Regions from separate parts of the Homo sapiens genome. Here region 2 is linked to region 1. Evidence: promoter capture Hi-C in 16 types of primary human blood cells and fetal thymus (Javierre and others, 2016). All regions are on one chromosome and are shown on one strand. The core of a region is centred on a gene start or on the middle of the fragment in contact, and the rest is flanking DNA. Distances in the headings are between cores, read along the strand shown. Region 1 holds the start of IPO9 (importin 9). Region 2 overlaps NAV1 (neuron navigator 1).

Region 1 (3,136 bases), core at 473-2,972:
GTTTAAATACAAGTCAAGGTCCACCTTTCATACAAAGGTGCCAGACATGCATTTGGAGCACCAGGAGCACTGGGTACCACTCAGGGAAGGTTTAGTTAAGATGAATTTGCACCAGACTCTCAAGTTTTATTCAGGTGACAACTTGAATGTGATGAGGTTCCTTTGCTTTGTCACTCTTCCTTCCTCATACTCAAGGGGGACAGACATTAATGTGCATAAACGAATTTTATTTAGAAGCCGCTAAAAATTCCTTTAGATTAGTTTATACATGGTTCTCAAACAGCTTTCTCCTAACCAGTGGTTTCTCCTGTATAGATCTGATATTTTATAAAACAATGACAATTACAAGTGGGCCTTCAAAATGGTCCTTAGCCTGTTAGATCCCAAATCTTAACATATTTCCAACAGAAGAAAATTTGTTTTCAACAGCTCTTTCATACTGTGAAAGAATGTAAACTAAATTTAAGAGAGATTTGTTCTAAATTCTTTTCAATAGAAATACGTCCAGTAGGAGAGCTAACTGAAGGTTTTGAATATGATGGGTGTGTGATGGGACAATTTCCCATATCTCTGATGAAGTATTTAAGTGGTGGTGGAAATATTCCTGAGTTGGGAGATTCTGAGGATTTGGAGTTCCAGTGAAGCTCTGACCAGATATATTTCTTACACAAAGACCAAGAAGATTTCTCCTCCTGTTTCTGGATTAAATTGTTCTTTGTGGTAGCTACACTGGACCCGGTGAAAGGCTCACGCGGCAGGAAATTGATAGAAAATCTCGAACCAATGGTTTATTTTCTTCTCCATCACTTTAAAGCACACAATAGAGGACGGAGACAAAGAATCAAAAACAAAGGATGATCAGTTCCTCCAAACAGAAATGCACAAAGGTATTTAATAAGGGCAAATTATTTTTAAAATAAACGTTAAGTATGGTCAGGACAGTGAAGCAATCGCATATGCATTTAATTTCTGGGAAAACACGAAGAGTACAAACAACTAGCTAGGTTTATAACTCAGAGGCAGAAACTTGTTTGATGACATCTATTAAGCTTTGATAGCCGCCTTTTCGAGGCCCTACCCTTCACCACTCCTACTAATAGCTCCCCCTACTCTTATCCCAGTACAATCCAGCTGGTGAAGAGAACAGCGAAAGACTTTGGTCCTGGACTCAAAAAATATTTCCCCGACCGCGCTACTTCCTCCAACAGCACCAAGTCTAGCTCCATCTCCGTCCCCTGCAGATTCTAGGCTCCATCTATCTTTTCAAGTCTCCACCCTCCCTCCCCCACTCCCAGGCTCCACCTCCCCCGACCCTATCCTTCAGGCGCGCCTCTCCTCTCTCGGACTTTCACAACCACCAGCGACATCAATCTCTCGCTTCCTGCTCCACTTCTCGGCGCCCACATCTCCAACTGGCTCAGGCTCCCCATGTCCCCAGCCGGTACGGAGCTGCGGTCAGCGGATTGTGCGGCTGAGCCATCCTCGTGACGGTCCCGCCTCACTCACCCTCCGTCACCTCCAGCACCTTAATCTGTTCTTCAGCAGCCGCCCGCACCTCCTGTACTGGGGATAGGATCCCGGTGAGCGTATCCACTAACGCTTCCTTTAATCCTTGTGCCACTGGACCCGGCAGCCCGGAGGCCGCACCAGCTGCCGCCGCCGCCGCCATCTTTTCTCCCCTCAGCCCGCCAGCCCCGCGGCCGGGACCCGCCACCGAATGACGGCCCCCGCGCGCGGCCAATCCGCGAAGCCGCGCCTGCGCACCAGAGGCGGGCGGGAGCGGGCGGAGGGCGGGGAATGAATCTAAGCCTCCAGAGACAGCGCCTCCTGCTGCCTGAACGAGAACTGCACCTTTCTCTGCAAGGATCTCTGGATTTGTGTGAAAACTGAGCCCCAGACAGGTTAAGGGGCTTTCCTAAAGTTGCACAGTAAGTTAGCAATCTCATTTGGAATAAAGTTCATGATATATGACTTTATATTCATGCATCTTTCAGGTGTTAGGAGAGAGGAGGCGGGATGGGAATAGATGTAGAGGGCTTTAAGGAGAGAGGTCTGGGTCACAAATAGCCCCTATTTTAAACCACATTCTTTTCCCCCCAAACACTGAAAAAAAGTTGGCTCAAGTGACTCTCTTCATCTTAGCCTCAGGAATCCAAAGAGGGGGGAAAATAAACTAAAGCAAACTGGGAAGTGGAAGTGGGAAAACCACGGCCCAGTCCCTTGGTTTTCCAGCCTAGATGAGCCCAACCTCAAAGCTGGGAAGTGGCTGGGCAGGGGAGACACCGGCATGTGAAAGGGAGTTTCTTCCAGAGTGAGTGTTGTATGTGACTATTTGAGAATGAATCCTATTTGTTGAAAATGTATAAATTTTTTTCCCTGAGAAATTATGGCTGGACATTTAAGGGGTGCGAGAACAAGAGCAGTTTGATGATATGGTTGTCAGCAGCTGGTCGTGGGAAATGGCCTACGGTGCAGAGCCGCTCCTGAATAGCGGAGCAGGTGGAGAGGATGAGCGCTCCAGTGAGGTGTTAAAAATGCAGGGTGTGGCGAGGCGCAGTGGCTCACGCCTCTAATCCTAGCACTTTGGGAGGCCGAGGCAGGAGGATCGCTTGAGCCCAGGATTTCGAGAACAGCCTGGGCAACATAGCGAGACTTCGTCTCTACAAAAAAATACAAAAATTGCCCAGGCGTGGTGGCGTACGCCCTGTAGTCCCGGCTGTTCGGGAGGTGGAGGTGGGAAGATCACTTGAGCCCAGGAGGAGGAGGCTGCAGTGAGCAGTGATTGCGCCATTGCACTCCAGCCTGGGCGACAGAGTGACATCTTGTCTCAGAAAAAGAAGAAAAAGCAAGATGTAAGCCAAGGCAGGAGGATCACTTGAGCCCAGGAGTTCCAGGCTGTAGTGTGCTGTCATCACACCTATGAATAGCTACTGCATTCCAGTCTGGGCAAGATATACAGACTCTGTCTATAAAAAAAAATAAAAATTAAAAAAAATGCAGGGCAGAGTGGCAAGCATGTAGTGGCAGAAAGGATAGAATGTTGTTGGAATGGGAGGTTCTAGAGCAAACAGAAACAGGTATTTTTTAGTGAGCTGTTCAGGTTATGTGCCTTCAAAATGGTTCCCAGGAACCCTTA
Region 2 (3,186 bases), core at 610-3,109, 230 kb after region 1:
GAGGTTTGGAGAGTGTGAGAGATTGTCCAAGGTCACAGCTCCACCCCCTGCTCCTATTCCAGGCGAAGCACATCCAGTTGGTCCTGTGGTCCTGCCAGTTTTCTTGGCCCTTGCTCTCTGGTCTTACCACCCTAACTCAGGCAGTTCCGATTCCTCACCAGGACACACACTTTGTTCTCCCGGCCCCACGCCGCATGGCCCACTCACACCATTTCCACCCTGAGGCCAAAAAGACCTGATCGAATTGTGGTTCTGATAACGACCCTCCTACGGGGTAAAATCAAGTTTCTTGGGGGTCCTCTAAGATCCTCCAGCACTTGATTCCTCCCTATTTCCCAGACTCATCTCTCTGCCCTGCCTCATTCTTTATCTTCAAGTTTTACTGAATAGTTTATCATTTATCCACACACCACGAGGTTTCAAGCTTATCCTTAGCTAATTTCTATTCATCCTCCAAGCTCAGCTCAGACGTCATCCCTTCCAGGAAGGCCTCTCTGACCTTCTGTAAGTGGCCCTGAGCTGCCAGAGCACTGTGTACATAGCGTTGGCTGCTCAGTCACCAGGTATACCTGGCTCATCTCCAAAGCTGCCTTCTTGAAGAACACTTAGCTTTGGCCACCTGGCGCCTGGTATCATGCCTGGCACGTAGTAGACACTCAGTATATATTGGAGGCATTGACGACATCTTGACGCCCAGGCATCCTGCAGCTGAACTCCCTCCCCTTGCTCCCTGGCCAAGGTGGGTGGGGCCTACTTCCCCGACTCTGCTCTCTGGAATCTGGGGCAATGGAGTTGGGCAGGAGATGGCACACCTCACAGGGGAGGGGCCTGCCTCACCTCGTCACACTGGGCCAGGACATCACGGGCACAGCAGGAGGAAATGAGACACAGCTGCCAAGGAAACAGACCAGGAAATCTTCCCCGCGGAACAGGAAGCAGGTGGAGCATGGGGGCTGAGCTTCCGCAGGAGTGTGAGGGAGGAAACCCGGCTCCTGTGCCTCAGGTCCTCCCAGCTTGGCCCTCAGCCTGGTGGAGCAGGGGCTCTGCAGCCTGTGGGAAGGGGTCCTTATGGACTCCCAGCTTGGCCCTCAGCCCGGTGGAGCACGGGCTCTGCAGCCTGTGGGAAGGGATCTTTGCAGATCCTCTTCTCAGGCTTTAACCAGCGGGCCCCAGGGGCATGTTAGGAGATTATGTGATAGTCTGTAGTTTGCACAGTGAGCCTTGACCAGGAAGCCCCCAGGAAGACAGCTTAGCTGTCTTCAGAGTGAGGCCGGAGGGGAAGAAGGAGAGTGTAGGGGGGTATTTGGCCAAGGCCAATGTGTGTGAATCCTGAGAAATGCTGGGTGCCTTAGCTGGGTGAAGGCTGGGAAGCCAGATGGGACTGCAGAAGACCTAGAATGCTCCCTCTCCTCAACCCCCTTCACTGATTCTCCTCTTCGTCCTTAACTTCTCATCACAAGATCGCTTCCTCAGTGACCATTTCCCTAACCTCCTAGACTAGACCAATGTTCTCGTTGCTTCTCCCTTGTTAAAACCCACCCTGCCAGGCCAGGCACGGTGGCTCACGTCTGTAATCCCAGCACTTTGGGAGGCCGAGGCAGGAGGATCACTTGAGGTTAGGAGTTTGAGACCAGCCTGGCCAACATGATGAAACTCCATCTCTACTAAAAATACAAAAATTAGCTGGGTGTGGTGGTGGGCACCTGTGATCTTAGCTACTCAGGAGGCTGAGGCAGGAGAATTGTTTGAACCCAGGAGGCGGAGGTTGCAGTGAGCCGAGATTTCGCCATTGCACTCCAGCCTGGGCAACAAGAGCAAAACTCCATCTCAGAAACAAACAAACAAACAAACAAACAAAAAACAAACAAACTAAAAAAACAACCCGCCCTGCTTGTCCAACATCTTCCCATTGGGCTGGAAACTCTGTTGGGGCAGGGACCATATTTCGTTCACCACTCTATCTCCCACACCTAGTGCAGTCCTGTAAATATAGTAGATGTTCAATAAATATGGTGGAATAAGTGGCCACAGGAAGTAACTGGAGAATGATGGAAATGGGAATCTCATGACCAGGCACTAAGTCTGGGCCAAAGACAGAGCCAGAGAGTGACAGTGTCTGCCCTTTCCTGATCCATAAACAAACAAACAAACAAAAAGTCCTGAGGAGTTCTTTGAAAGTCCAGCCCATGAGCTGCTGTGGTTCTTTCACATGAGCCCAGCCAGTAACAGGACTGGCTTGACCAAGCTCCCTCTTCAGTGCATCCAAAACCCTGGGCTAACTTGAGCTAACCTCAGGGCTGGGGTTAGGGTACCCCAAAGAAGGGAAGAGAGTCCCTGTCATCAGGAAGCCCTTGGACTAATGAGAGATACACGAAGGTGCCCTTGGCAATTTCCCAGCCTGATGGGAGAGATGGGGTCTACAGGTGGACAGAGGCTCAAGAGAGAAATAATAACAGCAAACACTGATGGACACGTACCACATGCCAGGCATTGCTTCCAGCATTTTATGTGTATCAACTCATTTCATTTTCACAAAACCCCATTGGGTAGATAATGTTGTTGTTATCATTTTATGGTGAGAAAACTGAGATGCAGTGAGGTTAAGGCGCTTGCCTTAATCACACAATCAAGACGTGGGGTCGCTAAGATTTAAGCCCAGGCTGCTGGCTCCAGAGCTGATATTCTAAACCATGACTCCACAGCATCTCTGGTATGAGTGATGCACATAACTGAAGAGGACGCAGTCCCGAAGCGAAGTTAACCACAGTTAGTTAATGAGCATCCTAGAGGAGGAGAATGCTGCATCAGGAAGGACATGGCTTGGTGGAAGAGGCAGAAGAAGGGCACCTTGGTTGCAGGGGACACGTAAGTGATGACTGAGACAGCACAGGAAAATCTGCTTTCAACTCGGCCAGGAGGCAGAGAGATGGAATTTCTTCTCCCTTCCCTTGGCTGGAAGACAGTGGCCATGTTGGAGGCCAGCTTCTAAACCCAACTGAAATTCCCAGACCCAGCCCACTTGCTGTGACAGTGCACACTGCTGTGCCTGCCTGCCCCTACCCTGGCCCCACTATGCCCCCAGTCCCTGCCTCGGATTGATCAGAAACCTGGTATGGCCTGGAGAGGAGGGACCTGGTGAGCAGAGGTGAGAAACAGACTCGGCGCCCCTTGGCACTTGGGGGAGGG

Evidence for each region. The method cuts DNA at HindIII sites, captures the fragments that hold promoters and counts their contacts. A CHiCAGO score of 5 or more calls a contact.
Region 2: a contact is called between a fragment that was not itself captured here and the fragment with the promoter of IPO9 in region 1, in 2 of 17 cell types (endothelial precursors and M1 macrophages). The highest score is 5.3, in endothelial precursors.

The regions. Positions count from the first base shown.
Region 1 is chr1:201,827,743-201,830,878 of GRCh38, reverse strand. IPO9 (importin 9) reads right to left here and starts at 1,722. Exons shown (of 24, transcript NM_018085.5): 1 at 1,507-1,722. The coding sequence starts at 1,669. It overlaps IPO9-AS1 (IPO9 antisense RNA 1), which reads left to right and starts at 1,320. Exons shown (of 3, transcript NR_046696.1): 1 at 1,320-1,928. RefSeq lists enhancers at 1,423-1,632, 1,644-1,938, 2,095-2,608, 2,609-3,123 and a silencer at 1,683-1,922. The HindIII fragment of the contact is 2,219 bases long and covers 1,052-3,136 here.
Region 2 is chr1:201,595,486-201,598,671 of GRCh38, reverse strand. The region is part of intron 2 of NAV1 (neuron navigator 1); the gene reads right to left. Among named protein-coding and RNA genes, the nearest start is that of NAV1, 58 kb to the right of the region's middle. The HindIII fragment of the contact is 2,865 bases long and covers 427-3,186 here.